2 separate regions of the Homo sapiens genome follow, and region 2 is linked to region 1. Evidence: promoter capture Hi-C in 16 types of primary human blood cells and fetal thymus (Javierre and others, 2016). All regions are on one chromosome and are shown on one strand. The core of a region is centred on a gene start or on the middle of the fragment in contact, and the rest is flanking DNA. Distances in the headings are between cores, read along the strand shown.

The links. The method cuts DNA at HindIII sites, captures the fragments that hold promoters and counts their contacts. A CHiCAGO score of 5 or more calls a contact.
Region 2: a contact is called between a fragment that was not itself captured here and the fragment with the promoter of CD80 in region 1, in 1 of 17 cell types (monocytes). The highest score is 5.3, in monocytes.

What each region holds. Positions count from the first base shown.
Region 1 is chr3:119,557,177-119,562,116 of GRCh38, reverse strand. It overlaps CD80 (CD80 molecule), which reads left to right and starts at 2,503. Exons shown (of 7, transcript NM_005191.4): 1 at 2,503-2,677; 2 at 4,189-4,488. The coding sequence starts at 4,389. It overlaps LOC107986118 (a long non-coding RNA gene), which reads right to left and starts at 1,687. Exons shown (of 2, transcript XR_001740861.2): 1 at 1,372-1,687. RefSeq lists enhancers at 2,230-2,279, 3,050-3,109, 3,380-3,539, 3,901-4,195 and a silencer at 3,901-4,195. The HindIII fragment of the contact is 26,007 bases long and covers 1,597-4,940 here.
Region 2 is chr3:119,684,196-119,688,602 of GRCh38, reverse strand. No RefSeq gene overlaps it. Among named protein-coding and RNA genes, the nearest start is that of COX17, 9.0 kb to the right of the region's middle. The HindIII fragment of the contact is 3,074 bases long and covers 215-3,288 here.

The sequences.
Region 1 (4,940 bases), core at 1,254-3,753:
AAGCCAAGGATGGATTTACAAAAAAATAAGTGGCACTAAAGAATTTACACTGAGGAGCAGTAATTCCTGCTTTATTCTTCTCCAACCCTGGGTCTGCTCCTCAGAACAAACTCATTTAAAGTTTTTTTGTTTTGTTTTGTTTTGTTTTTGAAACAGAATCTTGCTCTGTCACCCAGGCTGGAGTGCAATGGCACAATCTTAGCTCACTGCAACCTCCGCCTCTGAAGTTCAAGCAAGTCTCATGTCTCAGCCTTCCCAGTAGCTGGGATTACAGGTATGCACCACTATGCCCAGTTTTTTGGTTTTTTTTTTTTTTTTGGAGAGCTGGGGTTTCATCACGTTGGCCAGCTGGCCTCGAACTCCTGGCCTCAAGTGATCCGCCCACCTCAGCCTCTCAAAGTGCTGGGATTACAGGCATGAGCCACTGTGCCCAGCCTCCTTTTAAATCTTTTACTTGGTTTTGTTTTGTTTTGTTTTGTTTTCCAGTAATATAGGTATTCGGGTTCGGCTTCCTTTGCCCGTCTTCATCCATCTCACCTCCAGTGTCCAGAAATTTACCTTAGAAATCTGTGGTCCACAGGTCATGCTCCTAGACACATTGTAGGAGGAAGAGGAATTAAACACATCCCATTAGTACATAATCTTGGAAGAGAAGCCTTCTGAATTTTACAATCAGGATTGGGGAAACTCTGTAAAGTACCTTCCTGGTGTTCCTTTCTTCCAGCCTCTTTGATTAAGTCACATCAAAGCGCTAATGGCAAAGTTGTTTAATGTGTGTTTCTCCAAGGCAGGTTAGGATTTCACTGGGATTCTTAAAATTTGAGGGTGTCTGTGATCGTCAAAATTTGTATTCATGTAGTCCCTCATGAAATTTCTAAAACTCGGCTGGGTGCAGTGGCTCATGCCTGTAATCCCAGCACTTTGGGAGGCCGAGGAGGGTGGATCACAAGGTCAGGAGTTTGAGACCAGCCTGGCCAATATGGTGAAACCCCATCTCTACTAAAAATTTAAAAATTAGCCTGGCATGGTGGCACACGCCTGTAGTCCCAGCTACTCAGGAGGCTGAGGCAGAAGAATTGCTTGAACCCAGGAGGCGGAGGTTGCAGTGAGCCAAGATTGCACCACTGCACTCCAGCCTGGGCGGCAGAGAAAGACTTCATCTAAAAAAAAAAAAAGAAAATAAATTTCTAAAACTCTGTATTTCTTTGCTCTTTTAAGTTGACATCTATAACTTTCTATTACTTTAAATACCTGGAAAAAAAATCACTTCCAGTGCATTGTAATAATGTATCAAGTAGAAGTGGCTAAAATCAGTGAAAACATTTCTTTGATCTGAATAAATGTTCAAGAAAATAGAAAACATGAACTTACCTCCAATCTATGTTCCCTTTACTTGAAAATGTAATGTTGATCTACTAGAGGTAAGGCAGGAATTGTCACATCCATATTCCTTGCAACTATTCAAAATATGCATCTGAGACCAGAACAAGACACAGGTGAAGAAGGGTGCTCACTAGGCCCCTTCTGCCAATACAGAAGGAGACAGTGCAGTGGAGTCCTTTCATAGCAAGTTCTGCCTTCATGATTTCCAAAGCTTCAGTATTCCAAATCTCAGGTGAATAGGGTGGTATCCACTAAGCTCTGCCACAAACTTGTTGCTGAGATGAAGGAAGCCGCCGCTGTAGTCAGTATTTCTCACCCACACGGTTTGCTCTCTTTCTGGCTGGTGTGGGAAGGATGGCGTCTTTTTTTTTTTTTTTTTTTTGAGATGGAGTCTTGCTCTGTTACCCAAGCTGGATTGTAGTGTTGTGATCTCGGCTCACTGCAACCCATGCAAGGTGCTGTCAGGTTCCACCTGTGCAAACAAGTACACTGGTCCAGCATGGGTCAGCTGCTCACTCACAGGGGCTCCAGAATCCTACAAAGGGACACACAGGGGTGGGTGGCAACCTAGTTGGAAATGGGAGTGATGGGCATGACTAAAGTCTTCCTCATCCCACCAGAGGCGCACTCAACTGTGGCTAGGGTGACCAGAATTCACTGTCCAGCGTGGCTGGCAGGAGCCCACTCTCTGAAGATGGTGGGATTCAGAGGTGGGAGTAGAGTTGGGTGGTCCTGTGAGCTGAGCACTCTCCCAAAAGTGTCCCCTACATATGAGGTTGACAGCTTATTCCTGCAGGGACTCAGGAGTAACTCTGGGTGCTAAAACAAAACTTGAGACCAGCACAGAAACAGCCAGCCCATGAAGCTGGCCTCCCATCACACAGCAAGGCTAGCCAGATGCCCCTCACTCTTCTCGGGCACCATTCTTCTCCTCCCCTAGGCCGCCTGGTGCTCGTGGTGTTTCATGTTTGTTAGTCCATGCACGGTGGTGAGGGAGGCTGCTGTGTGATTTGCCCCAGCCACAGCCTCTACAAAAGCAACTAGAAGAAGACGGCAGCAGAGGGCGCTTCTTCAAACACCCTGTCCAACTCCTGGCACTGACAAGTACTGAGTGAACTCAAACCCTCTGTAAAGTAACAGAAGTTAGAAGGGGAAATGTCGCCTCTCTGAAGATTACCCAAAGAAAAAGTGATTTGTCATTGCTTTATAGACTGTAAGAAGAGAACATCTCAGAAGTGGAGTCTTACCCTGAAATCAAAGGATTTAAAGAAAAAGTGGAATTTTTCTTCAGCAAGTAAGTACATTTACTATTATCTTACTATGGGATAGCTTGGTAGAACTAGTTACCAGCAACCTCACTGCTTTTTAAACAAACAATACCTCTGCTACCACCTCCTGGATCCAGGCTTGCCCTCAAAGGAACCCTTAGGGTCTCATTCCCACAGGAGGCTGTGGCTTCCCGACATATTTGGAGCATCATAGTGAGAATTGTGGCCCATTATTTTAAAATATCCTAGATCCTAGCAAATATTGTTTTTGTGGGCCGTATTTGAATTTCTCAAGCCAGTAAAATTCTAGTGAAAGTGGGAAAATCGCTTGAGCTCGGGAGGTTGAGACTGTGGTGAGCTATGGTCACGCCACTGCACTCTAGCCTGTGTGACAGAGCAAGATTCTATCTTAAGAAAAACAAATTCTGGTGAATAAGTCTCTTTTAACTAATCCTGTCTAAAATGGATGATGGCTAATAAAACAATATGGCGTGGCTGGAACTCTAGCTCTAGGGTGGTCTCCAAAGAGGACACTCAAGCATTCTCTGAGCAGCACGGGGCTGTGTCCTGGTAGCAGCCTGAAGGGGTGACAGTGGAGCACAGTGTTTATTTTCATTTCTCAATTTTGACATATTTACTGGAAAAATTAATCCCTAGCCACCTCACATGACAGTACATAATTTTTTTTTTTTTTTTTTTTGAGATGGAGTCTCACTCTGTCGCCTAGGCTGGAGTGCAGTGTTGCAATCATCTTGGCTCACTGCAGCCTCCACCTCCTGGATTCAAGCAATTCTCGTGCCTCAGCCTCCCAAGTGGCTGGGATTACAGGCACCCACCACCACACCTGGCTAATTTTTGTATTTTTGGTAGAAATGGGGTTTTGCCATGTTGGCCAGGCTGGTCTGGAACTCCTGGCCTCAAGTAATCCGCCCACCTCAGCCTCCCAAAGTGCTGGGATTACAGGCGTGAGCCACCACGCCTGGCCCTGGAGTACATAATTTTGATAAGTAACGTCTGCAGTGTCTTTTTTTCCCTCCCTTTTTATGGATAGACTTTTCTGGTTATTGAGATCTCATACCCCTTTATGATATATTATTTGAGTAGAGGGTTTAAAGAATTGAGATACTTGTTTTCTTATGTTAATATGTCAAGAAAGAAGTTGTTTCATAACTTAGGTCCTGCCTTGGACAAAATACACCCTTACTGTCTGCTCTATGTTTCTTGGTATGTTCAGAAGAGGATTTGAACTTTTGCAGGTTGGCTAACAGATATGGAGGGTCCTTAGAGCTCTCCTGTTTCTAACCAAATCTTCACCCCACCTATTAAGTAGAAAGCCTTTTCATGGAAGGGCTGTGGTTGGTTCTTGGAACTGGTCCCCTCACAGAATTTCCATTCGCTTTTCCTCAGGGTCACGCCCTGCTTTAGAGGTTGCTTAGGTTAAGCTCTCCAATTAATTTTAGCAGGCAACTCGAGAGTTTTGCAACTCAAAGTAGGCACACCTTCCTTCCTGAATGACTTTTATTTGTTCCTTTTTCAGGCTGTGAAACTAAATCCACAACCTTTGGAGACCCAGGAACACCCTCCAATCTCTGTGTGTTTTGTAAACATCACTGGAGGGTCTTCTACGTGAGCAATTGGATTGTCATCAGCCCTGCCTGTTTTGCACCTGGGAAGTGCCCTGGTCTTACTTGGGTCCAAATTGTTGGCTTTCACTTTTGACCCTAAGCATCTGAAGCCATGGGCCACACACGGAGGCAGGGAACATCACCATCCAAGTGTCCATACCTCAATTTCTTTCAGCTCTTGGTGCTGGCTGGTCTTTCTCACTTCTGTTCAGGTAAGCAACTTTCAGGAACTTAACTGAGTCAACTGCTACAGGGTTAAGAGAAAGGACATGGGGTTCTCTGAGCTGCTCCCTTCTATTATCCTATAAGCTGGAAGGAACCTTCAGGGTGTTTTCAGAAGATTTTAAAGATTAGAAGACTGTGGTCCAAAGAGGTTAAAGGACCTGCCTATCATCACACAGCAAGTTAGCAACCAAGTTAACTCAAGAACCCAGGCCTTCAAGGAAGCGTGGAAGGGACAGTGTTATTTTAACAAAACCATACAGCCGATTCATAATGGTCTCTTCCATGAATATTAGATGCTCATTTACATTTTGTGATGTGCCGATACTGGCCTCGGAGTCTAGTCCCAAACTATGTTTTCATGATACAGCTCAGCGAAAGTGTCCTGCTTCTAAAATTGAACAATGGTGATCTTCTTTCCAATCTGAAGGCGGGAGAGTAG
Region 2 (4,407 bases), core at 502-3,001, 130 kb before region 1:
ATAATGACGGATGCCAGGAGGTGAGTTTCATGAATTAGAGGAGTGGTGCCATTCAGAGCCCTAATTGTTTTCTCTGGGACCTTTCATTTGTTGTAATTGGAGGTTTGGGATTTTTGTAGTCTTCTTTTTATTGGTATCCTCTAGGGTGCTATCTAATTGATTTGCCAAATTAACAAGGTAAAGGATTGGCATGGGTTTTCATTCCCTGCAAGCTTTTTTTACTAACTGAGTAAATTGTTAGGAGAGACCATTAACAAACATAAAGTTAAAGGCAACTCTAGTAGAGTCAATGTCCATGGGAAGGCCAGAATTCTCTTTAAATACAATCTGGAGTCTGTTATAATAGTTATGAACTGGTTCGTTTGGTTCTTGGGTACATGCTTGAATTTTATTCTAGTCAATGGCTTTACGGAATGCTTTGGGGATGGCCCTATATAAACTTTTTGCAAGTTACCGTTCCTGCTCCCAATATTATAAGCTAGTTTATAGGGAGATGAGGAGGGGTCTTTCTAAATTCTGTTAGGGGTGTGATATGGTTTGGCTCTGTGTCCCCACCCAAATCTCATCTTGAATTGTAGTCCCATAATTCCCATGTGTTGTGGGAGGGAGCTGGTGGGAGATAATTAAATCGTGGGGGAAGTTTCCCCCGTACTGTTCTTGTGGTAGTGAATAAGTCTCATAAGATCTGATGGTTTTATCAGGGGTTTCTGCTTTTGCATCTTCCTCATTCTCTCTTTTCCTGCAGCCATCCATGTAAGATGGGACTTGCTCCTCCTTGCCCTCCACCATGATTGTGAGGCTTCCCCAGCCATGTGGAACTGTAAGCCCAATTAAACCTCTTTCTTTTGTAAATTGTCCCTTCTTGGGTATGTCTTTATCAGAAGCATGAAAATGGACTAATATAGTAAATTGGTACCAGGGTGAGATACTGCTGAGAAGATACCTGAAAATGTGGAAGCAACTTTGGAACTGGGTAACAGGCAGAGATTGGAACAGTTTGGAGGGCTCAGAAGACAGGAAAATGTGGAAAAGTTGGGAACTTCCTGGATACTTGTTGAATGGCTTTTCCCAAAATGCTGATAGCAATATGGACAATAAGATCCAGATTCAGGTGGTCTCAGATGGAGGTGAGGAACTTGTTGGGAACTGGAGTAAAGGTGATTCTTGTTATATTTTAGCAAAGACACTGGTGGCATTTTGCCCCTGCCTTAGAGATTTGTGGAACTTTGAACTTGAGAGAGATGATTTAGGGTGTCTGGTGGAAGAAACTTCTAAGCAGCAAAGCATTCAAGATGTGACTTGGGTGCTGTTAAAGGCATTCAGTTTTAAAGGAGAAACAGAGCATAAAAGTTTGAAAAATTTGCAGCCTGACAATGCAATAGGAAAGAAAATACCATTTTCTGAAAAGAAATTCAAGCCAACGACAGAAATTTGCCTAAGTAACCAGGAGCCAAATGTTAATTCCCAAGACAATGGAGAAAATGTCTCCAGGGCATGTCAGAGGTCTTCATGGCAGCCACTCTCATCACAGGCTTGGAGGCCTAGGAGGATAAAGTGGTTTCATGGGCTGGGTCCAGGGTCCCCAAGCTGTGTGCAACCTAGGGACTTGGTGCCCTGCATCCCAGCCACTCCAGCCATGGCTGAAAGGGCCAACATAGAGCTCAGGCCATGGCTTCAGATGGCCAACCCCAAGTCTTGGCAGCTTCCATGTGGTGTTGAGCCTGAGGGTGCACAGAAGTCAAGAATTGAGGTTTGGGAACCTTTACCTAGATTTCAGAATATGTATGGAAATGCCTGGAAGCCCAGGCAGAAGTTTGCTGCAGGGGCAGGGGTCTCATGGAGAACCTCTGCTAGGGCAATGCAGAAGGGAAAGGTGGGGTTGGAGCCCCTACACCTACTGGGGCACTGCTTAGGGCATTGCTTAGTGGAGCTGTGAGAGGAGGGCCACTGTCCTCCAGATCCTAGAATTGTAGATCTACCGACAACTTGCACCATGCACCTGGAAAAGCCGCAGACACTCAACACCAGCCCATGAAAGTAGCCGGGAGGGAGGTTGTAATCTGCAAAGCCACAGGGGTGGAGCTGCCCAAGACCATGGGAACCTACCTCTTGCATCAGCATGACCTGGATATGAGACATGGAGTCAAAGGAGATCATTCTGGAGCTTTAAGATTTGACTGCCCCACTGGATTTCAAACTTGCATGGGCCCTGTAGTCCTTTTGTTTTGGCCAATTTCTCCTATTTGGAATAGGTGTATTTACCCAATGTCTGTATTCCCATTGTTTCTAGGAAATAACTAACTTGCTTTTGATTTTACAGGCTCATAGGCAGAAGGGACTTGCATTGTCTCAGATGAGACTTTGGACCATGGCCTTTTGAGTTAAAGATGAAATGAGTTAAGACTTTGGGGGACTCCTGGGAAGGCATGATTGGTTTTGAAATGTGAGGATATGAGATTTGACAAGGGCCAGGGGCAAAATGATATAATTTGGCTCTGTGTCCCCACCCAAATCTCATCTTGAATTATACTTCCATAATTCCCACATGTTGTGGAGGGACCCAGTGGGAGACAATTGAATCACGGGGATGGTTTCCCCCATACTGTTCTTGTGGTAGAGAATAAGTCTCACAAGATCTGATGGTTTTATCAGGGGTTTCCACTTTTGCATCTTCCTCATTCTCTTTGCCTGCTGCCATCCATGTAAGATGGGTCTTGCTCCTCCTTGCCTTCCACCATGATTGTGAGGCTTCCCCAGCCATGTGGAACTGTAAGGCCAAAGGCCAATTAAACCTCTTTCTTTTGTAAATTGCCCCTTCTTGGGTATGTCTTTATCAGCAGCATGAAAACAGACTAATACAGGGTGTGTGCAATTGACCTTTTTCTTCTTTCTTTCCTTTTTTTTTTTTTTTTTTTAAGGCAGGGTCTCACTTTATCACCCAGGCTGGAGTGCAATGGAGTGACCTCGGCTCACTGCAACCTCCGCCTCCTGGGTTCAAATGACTCTCCCTCAGCTTCCTGAGTAGCTGAGATTATAGATGTGTGCCACCAGGCCTGGCTAATTTTTGTATTTTTAGTAGAGACGGAGTTTCGCCCTGTTGGCCAGGCTGGTCTCGATCTCCTGACCTCAGGTAATCTGCCCACCTCAGCCTCCCAAATTGTGGGGATTACAGGCGTGAGCCACCATACCCAGCCACAACTGACCTTTTTCATCCAGTGATTAGCCTGGCTTTCTCCCACAAGCATGTGGACAAGTTGATTAAGATCAGAGAAGCTGGGCTAGTAAGCTTCAATTGTAATGTTAAATTCATCAGCAAAGCAAAGAGGGTCCTGGGTAACTTTAGGAAATTCCTTGGCTTTAACATGGATTTCAGCCTTATTCCAAGGGCATAGACAATCTAAGGAACCTCAGGATTGTTAGTGGGTCTAACCCTACAGGGACAAGTTTTTATAGGTTGAGGATGGGGATCAGAAGCTGGGAGGGTAGTAGGGGAGGAAGTATCAGGATTGAGTGGGGTTTTCAGAAAGGGAAGGGTAGAGAGGAGAGAGAGGTGGTGGTACCAGGGGAGCAGAAAAACTCTGAGTTTCTAAGGCCTTTTAAAATCTTCCTTTCGTTGTTTATCTGTCTTAGTTAACTTAGTGATGGTATTTTGGAGTTAGGTGATTTTTGAGGCTTGAATACATTTAGATGCTTCAAGATACCACTTAAAGTTTATGCTCCTTTCAGGCAATTTAATTTTGTAGCCATGGCCTTCTAATTTAGTTCTAAGAAAACAAGTTAGGGAGTTCAAGAGATGGCCATTGTAATTCCAAATTTTCTTTAGTGTAATTGGTCCATTGCGATAAAAAAAGAATAGGAAGATGGACCATAATAATTAAGCATATAACAAGCTAGAGTCCCCAATGTTGGGGGGCTATTTTGGTATATCTTTGAATTTGGGGAGTTCATTTGTAAATAAACATATCCAAGTGAGTCAGTGCAAAGCCAAACACACAAAAGCCAAAATAAAAATCAAGCACACAAAATGAACCAAAGAGTAAAGTACATACTCACCGGGAAGAATGACAAAGCCTTCTTCAAATCCCTTACAAATAGAGGCCTAATAAATAGGAGAGGAAAGGCCCTTCATAAAGAAATCCCAAATAAAGCTGAAGAACTCAAATCCAAAAAAAAAAAAAAAAAAAAAAGGGGTGTTTAACCCAAGAAAGACTCACTGGGGTGAAAAAAGATCACCAGCGGAAGTAGGGGGCTCAAGGGGTCTGACAGTGAGTACTGCACACCATAGTTCCAGGGGCCATTATCTTTCCAAGTGAATCTGCTTTGCATCTCACTTCTGACACCATGTAATGTCAATAACAGATAGAGACTAATCTCCAAGCAAAAAGAGTTTATTTTGAAATAAACAAA